Regions from separate parts of the Homo sapiens genome. Here all the other regions are linked to region 2. Evidence: promoter capture Hi-C in human tissues and cell types (Jung and others, 2019). All regions are on one chromosome and are shown on one strand. Each heading gives the region's core, a stretch centred on a gene start or on the middle of the fragment in contact. The rest is flanking DNA. Distances are from core to core; before and after follow the strand shown. Region 1 overlaps FANCA (FA complementation group A). Region 2 holds the start of DBNDD1 (dysbindin domain containing 1). Region 3 overlaps VPS9D1 (VPS9 domain containing 1).

Region 1 (2,873 bases), core at 1-2,500, 260 kb after region 2:
TCCCGCCTCGGCCTCCCAAAGTGCTGGGATTACAGGTGTGAGCCACCACGCCCAACCCTTTTTTTTTTTTTTTTTCGTATTTTTAGTAGAAACAGGGTTTCACCGTGTTAGCTAGGATGGTCTCAATCTGCTGACCTCGTGATCTGCCTGCCTCGGCCTCCCAAAGTGCTGGGATTACAGGCATGAGCCACCGTGCTCGGCCTCCTAAAAATGTTTTTAAAAAACTTAGCTGGTCATGGTGATGTGCACCTGCAGTCCCAGCCATCTGAGAGGCTGAGGGGGAGAATTCTGGAGTTCAGGAGGCAGAGTCTGCAGCGAGCTACGATTGCACCACTGCACACACTCCAGCCTGGGCAACAGAACCTGTTTCCAAAAATAAATGAAGGTATGCTACTGTGAATAGCTGTAGAATGTTGTTGTTTTGTTAGTTTCTTTTTTCTTTTTTTTTTTTTTCCTTTTTATAGATAGTTCTCACTCTGTTACTCACTGCAGCCTTGACCTCCTGGGCTCAAGAGATCCTCCTGCCTCAGCCTCCCAAGAGGCTGGGACCACACACATGTGCCACCACACCTGGCTGATTTTTAAATCTTTTGTAGAGACGGGGTGTCACCATGTTGCCTAGGCTGGTGTCAAACTCCTAGGCTCAAGCAATCTGCTGGCCTCAGCCTCCCAAAGTGCTGGGATTACAGGCATGAGCCACCGTGCCCAGGTAATTTTTAAATGAGATGAGGTCTTACTATGTTGCCCAGACTAAAATAGCCGTTTTATACTTAGAAAGAAGGATTACAGTACTAACATCTTTGTGCTAGGGAAATCCTGTAAGAAATCATTCTTGATAAAACTAAGGTTTCTTTCCTGTGGAACTCTCAGCTGCAATTTCATTATAACACAGGGACATGGAGGACTGCGTATGAGATGAAATGACAAACTGGTTTATAAACCTGTCGGTGGATTGTGTGTTCTGTCCTCATTGTATTGAATTGCTTGCTCTCTTTCTCAGTTAACTTACCAAGACTGGTTACACCTGGAGCTGGAAATTCAACCTGAAGCTGATGCTCTTTCAGATACTGAACGGTAAGTGTTGAAAAGAGCTACCCTGGCCAGGCATGATGGCTCACACCTATAATCCCAGCACTTTGGGAGGCTGAGGCAGGAGATCTCTTGAATCCAGGAGTTTGAGGTCAGCCTGGGCAACATGGGGAAACTCCATTTCTACAAAAAATAGAAAAGAAATTAGCCGGACATGCGGCACGTTCCAGTCATCACAGCCACTTGGGAAGCTGAGCAGGAGCATTGCTTGAGCCTGGGAGGTAGAGGCTGCAGCGAGCTGAGATCACACCACTGCACTTTAGCCTGTGCAACGGAGTGAGACCCTATCTCAAAAGAAAAAGGAGCTTCCCTTTAAAATGTTACACGGTTTTCCACATTGCCTTAAAGCCTATGTTTCGTCATTTTATCCTCAATTTAATGTTTGGTTTACCTGTTAATCTTTGAGCACAATTTCAATTTTTTTTTTTTCGGTGGCAAGATTTATTAAAGCAAAAGCGAAAGTAAAGCTTCCACGCGGTGGCAATTTCTGTTTTTCTTTTTTTTTTTTTTTTTCTGAGACAGAGTCTTGCTCTGTCACCCAGGCTGGAATGCAGTGGCGCGATCTCGGCTCACTGCAACCTCCACCTCCCGGGTTCACGCCATTCTCCTGGCTCAGCCTCCCGAGTAGCTGGGACTACAGGCGCCCGCCACCATACCCAGCTAATTTTTTGTATTTTTGGTAGAGACGGGGTTTCACCGTGTTAACCAGGGTGGTCTCAATCTCCTGACCTCGTGATCCACTTGCCTTGGCCTCCCAAAGTGCTGGCATTACAGGCGTGAGCCACCGCGCCTGGCCAGGTTGCCCAATTTCGGTTGTTATTCCTTTATTTAAGAAACATTTACTGAGCTCCTACCATGTGGCAGACAATTCTAGAGTGTTCTAGAAGCAGGGAGTATAGAGGGGAATAAACAAGCCTGCCCATATGGCACCTTTGTATCAATGAGGGCAGATGTGGCACGTATAAGGCACCCACTTAGACTTCACCCTACCCTGGCTGGGCTATGGCTGCTGTCCGGGAGCTGTACACCTGTGTCCAGGCCCTGGCAACACACAGGTAGATACAGAAGTGGATTAAAGGTAGGAATGAGCCCTGGAGATAACAGACAGGGCCGTGTGAGAGGAAATGACCAGGCAGGAGCAGAGGCTGGTGTGGAGCAGGTGGTGCAGACTTTGAGGAGTGATGCCAGCCTTGACTTGGGGGCACCAAGAAGTGGGTAAATGAAGCAGTGAACCCCCATGAGTCCCAGGGCTGATGACTGAGACCATTTGAGACTATTTGAGAGGCCAGATGTGCTGTTCTGGGCATAGGAGTAGGGAGCCCAGAGGACCGTTGGGTTTAAGGGTGTGGAGTTTAGGGTGGAGGTCAGGGAGAGGGGAATGTGGTCACTGCAGATATGGAGTATCCTGGTGGGTATATGGGCCTCAGGGTGCCTGCCACACCTAGACTCAGGAGAGGGTTGGCAACAGCCACCCTGTGCTCCTCGTCCTTCCGGCCATCAGGGGCCTTCCAGGCACATGCAGCACTGTCGCCTGCACCTGGATCCTGGTATCAGATTCTGGATGAAACCAATGGAAGTAATAGGAAAAGGAAAACATAGGGGCCACAAAAAGAAAACTCGCTGCTGCCTGCGGCAAAACACGTGCTGATGGTTCAGGTCGTGCCAAGCCCGCTCTGCAGGCGCTTCCTTCACTCACCCCCGTTTCTCCTCCCGGCTGCTCTCTGGGGTGGAGTCTAAGGAGGAGGTCAGAGGGAGGGGCTTGTCTGCTGCATGAGGTCATGCTG
Region 2 (3,007 bases), core at 168-2,667:
CTTTTTGCTTCAGAAGTCTGGATGAGTGTCCTGAATTAAATAGCTGTATTAACAATAATTCCTTTCAGCAAAAAGGGCAAGAATAGGAGGGTTAGCTCAGGATAGCCTAGACAGGGTACTCATTTTTCACAAGCTAAGAGCAATCCTGGTCTGTCGGTGTGGGCTGCAGAGATGAATCATTCAGGGAGCCCTGAATTGCGGCTCCCTGGGATCCCGACAGGGCCCACTGCGACCTGTTCTTTTCATATTGAATTCGAGTTCAGATTTTTAGAAAAGAGCCTTTTCTTCACATATGTGGCTTAAGATACTTTCATTCAGTGTCAAGCTGTGCAGCTCAGAAACCCAGATAAATGGCATCTGAGTTTCCTGCAAAATCCCAGAGCAAATGTTAATACAAACAAACCGACTGCCCTCTGTCTGATGTCTGATGCTTCCTGCCACCCACTATCCACCAGGTAAACCGCCTCAGGCCACGGCATCAACTCAGTGAAGGCCTGGATGCTGGGTTAACAAGAGTGTTTATGAAGACTAGACTTTTTCTTTTCTTTTCTTTTCTTTTTTTTTTTTGAGACATACAATCATAGCTCACGGCAGCCTTGGACTCCTGAGCTCAAGCTGTGCTCCCACCTCAGCCTCCCAAAGGGCTGGGATTACAGGCATGAGTCAATGCTCCTGCAAACGGACTTTCTTTGAGAGATAAATATTGAAGTACTTACAAATGCAATGATCTAATGTGTATATAATTTGCTTCAAAATGACCCAGCAGTGGAGGGAAGTGAATGAGGACAGAGAAGCAGTGGCCCAGGCCAGGAGCTGGCAATCGCTGAATCTGGGCGATAGGGACATGGGGGTCAGTTTCATCGAAACTGCCTTGGCGCTCTCTGCAGCCCGGGCCCGCCGCCCTCTCCTTACCTCCCATCCCCCATCCCGCCCCTTCCAGCCTCCCAAGCACACGCCCTCGCCCCCACCCGCCCCCCGCGTTAATTCGCGCCATCCAGGGCGCTCTGTGAGTCTGTCATTACCCAGCGCGAGTCAGGCCCCTCCTGTGCCCCTCGCCAGCCCCGAGGGGCGCCCGCACACAGTCGGCGCCCCACACGCAAGTACCTGGAAGAGAACAAGAGGACGCCAGCGGGCGCGGCCGCCAAGTGAGTGCGCAGGAGCCCCGGACGCCCGGCCGGGGTCGGGAGGGCGCAGCCAGGTCCCGGTGGTGTCCGCGGCGGGGCGCGGCCCGCGAGGGAAGGGTCGGCGGGGGAGGGGTCCGCTGGGCCAGGGGCCAGCAGGGGGCGCGCGCGGGCCGGGGCGGGGCCGCACCTGTCCTGCGGCTGGGGGGGCGCCGGGAGGGGGCCGGGGCCCGGGAGCAGCTGCGCGCCCCGCCCCGCCCCGCGGGCTCCTCCCTGCCGCCGCGGCCCCCCGGTTGCTGCCCCGATGCGCTGCGCCCGGAGCCGGGGCCGAGTCGCTGCCGCAGCTGTTGGGGCGCCCGGGCCAGGCGACGCCGCCGTCGCCCGTGCCCCTCCCAGACCGCACCGGCCGCATGGAGCCCCCGGAGGGCGCCGGCACCGGAGGTGAGTTCAGCCCCAGCCCCCGAGACCCCCGCGCAGCGCTTCCCCGCAGCGAGCCGCAGCCCCTCCCCCCAGGGCTCACCCTTCGCCGCTCCCGGGAGTCGCGAAGACCCCTTTGGCAGCTCGGGGTCGTCCGGCGGGCCAGGGGCACCTCCCGGGCGCGGTCCCCGCGCGGGGCTGGGGGCACACGGACCGAGTCTCCGCCCCCTTGTTCTCTGCGCTCCCGGCCCGGGAAGCCGTGCCCGGCACGCTCCTTGGTGGGTGGCCCGGAGTTTCGTCCTGAGCCCCCTCCCAGCCAAGCCAGCCGGTGACCCGGGGAGCGGGGGAGGGGGGTTCCGGGGCTGGAGTTTGGGGTCCCTGTCGGTGGGGCGTGAGGGCGACGCTGGCCGCTTGCAAGCGCGTCCGCTTTGTTCGCCCAGCCGCGAGTCCCGGGGGGCGAGGGCCGTAGACTCGCGGGCAGGGATCCTGCCAGGGGCGAGGGGCTGAGATGGGTCTTGGGGATGTGGGGCATGCACGGGCGCGGCCTGCCGGGGACTCCAGAGCTGCAAGGGTGGCTGGTCCGGGAGTGGCCCAGGCGCACGCTCATCGGGGAGGGTAGGTGCGCGTGGAGCGCTCCCTGCCCTGATGGTGGAGGCCCTACTGCAGGACCTTGGAGTCGGTAACGGGAAGAAAGCTCTCAGAACCTCCCCCCTTCCCGATCAGAGACTTTTCCAAAAGGGCTTTCGGGGTTCCATTTGCCTAGGTAGGAACTTGGATGCAAACTGCAGACTCCTCCACCTGCCCAGCCAAGCCCACCACCTCCTGGTTTCCTAGAGCTCCCATTCCAGGGAGCCAGCAGGTGCCTGAGGGCACAGGCAGGCCAGCCTGCCGCTCTGGAACTACATGGGAACCTCTCAGTCCCCCAGCCGCACACAGTGGCATCCTCTGGAGCCCGAAGGGCTGTCCCCGGGAGGAGCAGGTCCACCCACCCTGTGTATCTGCAGTCCAAGGTATAGGGACAAATGCCCCAGGGCTGGTGGGTTTGGGTTTTGATTTGTCATTTGTGGGAGGGACCAGAGCTCTTTCTTAACACTGATAGTCCCAGGCTCCTGGGTATTCCCAGTAGCAGCTTTGTGGACATAGGAAGCCTGGAGGTTGGGAGTGAGGGCTTGGGGGTCTCCGAGCTGTTTCCAGCTGTGAACTGTGGGCAGTCAGGCCCCTGTGAGCCTCAATTTCCATTTCTGTCAGTGGAGACAGTTCTGCTTCCCCTGCAGGGCTGTGGGAGCCCAAGGCATTTGGGAGTGGAGGTTAATATGTTTTCCCTCCTCCTTTGGGAAAAAAGGAGGACTTCCCAGCAGCTTAAAAGGCAGAGAAAGCAGGTTCAGTTTCTGAGCCCATCAGTCACTGGCTGGGGGCTTCAGACACCTGACTCAATCAGTGCACAGGTATTTACCTACAGGTCGCAGCTC
Region 3 (3,074 bases), core at 564-3,063, 310 kb after region 2:
GCAGGGTCTCGGGCTCTGAGCCCAGGACATTCCCTGCCCCTTACTCACCTTGGCTGTGGGCTGTGAACATTCCGGGACCCTGGGCATCTTATCTAGGTCCGTGCAGCCCAAGGGTCAGCCCTCTTGACTGTCACATGCTGCCCCCACCCAGCCTAAAATAAAGAGCTCACTGCTGTGCTTCGCCGTGTGGCTCCCTCAATCCCCACCCCACTGGCCAGGCAGCACAACCACCCCTGCTGCCCATGGCAGAGGCCGCTGAGGATGTGGGGGACGAGCCACAGCCCAGCCCCAAACCAAGCCTGGCCCAACCTCTTGAACATCTGCCAGCCTCCGAGACCCTCTGCATAGAAGCAGGGTCCTCTTGGGGCTGTGCCTGGCCAGGCAGGTGTGGGCTTCACCCTCTTGGACAGGAGAGCTCTGCAGGGCATCAGTGGGTGGGAAGGGTGGGGTGAGGCTGGGGTCCAGGTCATCACTGGGGACCTGAGCCCAGAGCAGTCACCCGAGGGTCTCAGGAATCATCGTTCTGTGCATGGCGACACACACATGCTCTGAGGTGCACAGAAGGCTGCCGGGCGTGGACAGCATCTGCCAGGGCGGTGTGGGCAGATCAGGATGGAGGGCTCTTCTGCAAGAAAGGCACCCCTGGCACCTTGAGATGCCATGAGGAGGCAGGTGGCAGGGCTGGTGGGGTGGGAGGTCCCAACCCTAGATGCTACCAGGAGCTGGCTGGGGGGCAGTGTTGCTGTTCTCAGGGAAACAGTCTTAAAAGCAGTAGCTGTGGACCTCGGTGGGATGCTCTGTGCTTGCACCCTGAGCAGGGGCTGGTTTACCCGCCAAGGACCCCATAGGGAGACAGAAGTGTCTCTCTGGGTGGGGCAGAGCTGGAGCATCTGCCCCAGCCCTCGATACGAACCCCAGCTGGCCACGGTGCCTTGGAGCTTGGGCTGCTCCGGCCTCAGCGTTGGTGTCTAGAAGATGGGATTTTAAAGTCCGCTTCATAGAATGGTGGAGATGAGCTGTGTCTTGAACAAATCCTGGCGTGGGAGCCCCTGCTGGCTTGGCATCGGGGCCACACCTGCAGCCTGCACACTGTGGGGGCCGGGAACGTCCTGGCTCAGCTGTATCCCTGGCGCTGAGACCCGGCAGACATGTTCAAGTGCTGCTGTTTGCTGTGCAGCTTTGCCCTCGCTGAGCCTGCAGCTCCCCCATAAGACAGGAATGAATAATAGCAGCTTCCTTTTAGAAATCCTACAAATGGCCGGGCGCGGTGGCTCACGCCTGTAATCCCAGCACTTTGGGAGGCCGAGGTGGGCGGATCACGAGGTCAGGAGATCAAGACCATCCTGGCTAACACGGTGAAACCCCGTCTCTACTAAAAATACAAAAAATCAGCCGGGCGTGGTGGCCCGCACCTGTAGTCCCAGCTACTCGGGAGGCTGAGGCGGGAGAATGGCGTGAACCTGAGAGGCAGAGGTTGCAGTGAGCTGAGATCGTGCCACTGCACTCCAGCCTGGACGACAGAGAGAAACTCCGTCTCAAAAAATAAAAATAAAATAAAAAGTAATGGCTGGGCGCAGTGGCTCATGCCTGTAACCCCAGCGGTTTGGGAAGCCGAGGCGGACGGCTCTTTTGAGGTCAGGAGTTCGAGACCAGCCCGGCCAACATGGCGAAACCCCGTCTCTACTAAAAATACATAAATTAGCTGAGCGTGGTGGCGGTAGTCCCAGTTACTCAGGAGGCTGAGGCCGGAGAATTGTTTGAACCTGAGAGGCAGAGGCTGCAGTGAGCCGAGATCACGCCATTGTACTCCAGCCTGAGCACAGAGCGAGACTCCATCTAAAAAAAAATAAAAATAAAACTATTCTGCATAAGCAGTGTCCAAATCATAACAAAAATCAAATGAAAAGTAAACAAGATGTAACCTTATATCCATTGGACCGGAGAAGATGAGGAAGCTGGACGATGCTGAGTACAGGAGGGGGAGGGAGCTCACGCACACTGTGGGGTGGACACGGCAGTGGCCCCAGGGGACCAGGTGCAGTCCTGGAGTCCAGGTAAGTGTGGACGGAACCTCCGACCTGGCAAGGCTGCTGCCGGTTTTAGAGGATGTATATGCAGTGGAGGCAATGGAGTGTCTGTCCCGGGAGGGCAGGGAAGGACGGAGAATCCACACGGCAGCTCATGGAGTGTCCATCCCCGGGCAGGAAGGGAGGGAGCCGTGAATGTGTACAGCCCACGTAGCCACCGCTGCCTAACAAACTACCCCAACTCAGGGGCTTAAATACTCAAGACGCCAGGCATGGTGGTTCACACCTGGAATCCCAGCACTTCGGAAGGCTGAGGCGGGGGGATCACTTGAGCCCAGGAGTTTGAGACCAGCCTGGGCAACATAGTAAGGCCCCCCTCTCTACTAAAAAGTTAAAAATTAGGCTGGGCACCGTGGCTCACGCCTGCAATCCCAGCACTGTGGGAGGCCGAGGTAGGTGGATCACCTGAGGTCAGGAGTTTGAGACCAGCCTGGCCAACATAGTGAAGCCCTGTCTCTGCTGAAAATACAAAAAGTACAAAAATCAGCCAGATGGCTCCTCAGCATCATGGGAGGCTGTTTCTAGGTGGTAACCCAATGACCAGGGGTTGGATTCATCCGAAGAGCTGTCTGCTGTCTATGGTTGGTGCCAGCTGTCGGCTGGGACCTCATTCAGGGCTGTCGGAACGACGACGTGAGGACTGGATGTGTTGCCAGGGGCTGCCAAAACGACCACAAAATGGGTGGCTTACAGCAACAGAAATGTTCTCTCTCACCATCTTGCAGGCCTGAAGTCAAAATCAAGCTGTCAGCAGGGCTGACTCCCTCTGGAGGCTTTAGGGTAGAATTCTGTTTGCCTCCAGTTTCTGGTGGCTCTAACACAGCTGTGTTACCTTCGCTCACGGCACCCTCGTTCCACTCTGCCTCCGTCTTTAAGCGGTCTTCTCTCCTGTGCGTTCATATCTAAGTTTCTCTCTCCTCATAAGGACAGCAGTCATACTGGATTGAGGGCCCATGCCAACCCAGAACAACCTCATCCTTTTTTTTT

The links. The method cuts DNA at HindIII sites, captures the fragments that hold promoters and counts their contacts. A contact is called where the count stands out against the background at its distance.
Region 1: a contact is called between a fragment that was not itself captured here and the fragment with the promoter of DBNDD1 in region 2, in 1 of the 25 tissues and cell types used here (stomach).
Region 3: a fragment that was not itself captured here is called in contact with the fragment with the promoter of DBNDD1 in region 2 in 1 of the 25 tissues and cell types used here (lymphoblastoid cells).

The regions. Positions count from the first base shown.
Region 1 is chr16:89,760,150-89,763,022 of GRCh38, reverse strand. FANCA (FA complementation group A) reads left to right here. Exons shown (of 43, transcript NM_000135.4): 29 at 1,001-1,074. Among named protein-coding and RNA genes, the nearest start is that of ZNF276, 40 kb to the right of the region's middle. The HindIII fragment of the contact is 3,867 bases long and covers 1-2,873 here.
Region 2 is chr16:90,017,866-90,020,872 of GRCh38, reverse strand. DBNDD1 (dysbindin domain containing 1) reads left to right here and starts at 1,417. Exons shown (of 4, transcript NM_001042610.3): 1 at 1,417-1,562. The coding sequence starts at 1,532. It also overlaps a transcript of DRC4 not described here. RefSeq lists silencers at 118-412, 1,159-1,298. The HindIII fragment of the contact is 9,907 bases long and covers 1-3,007 here.
Region 3 is chr16:89,704,237-89,707,310 of GRCh38, reverse strand. VPS9D1 (VPS9 domain containing 1) reads left to right here. Exons shown (of 15, transcript NM_004913.3): 15 at 1-177. Among named protein-coding and RNA genes, the nearest start is that of SPATA2L, 4.1 kb to the right of the region's middle. RefSeq lists enhancers at 424-924, 902-1,081. The HindIII fragment of the contact is 7,089 bases long and covers 1-3,074 here.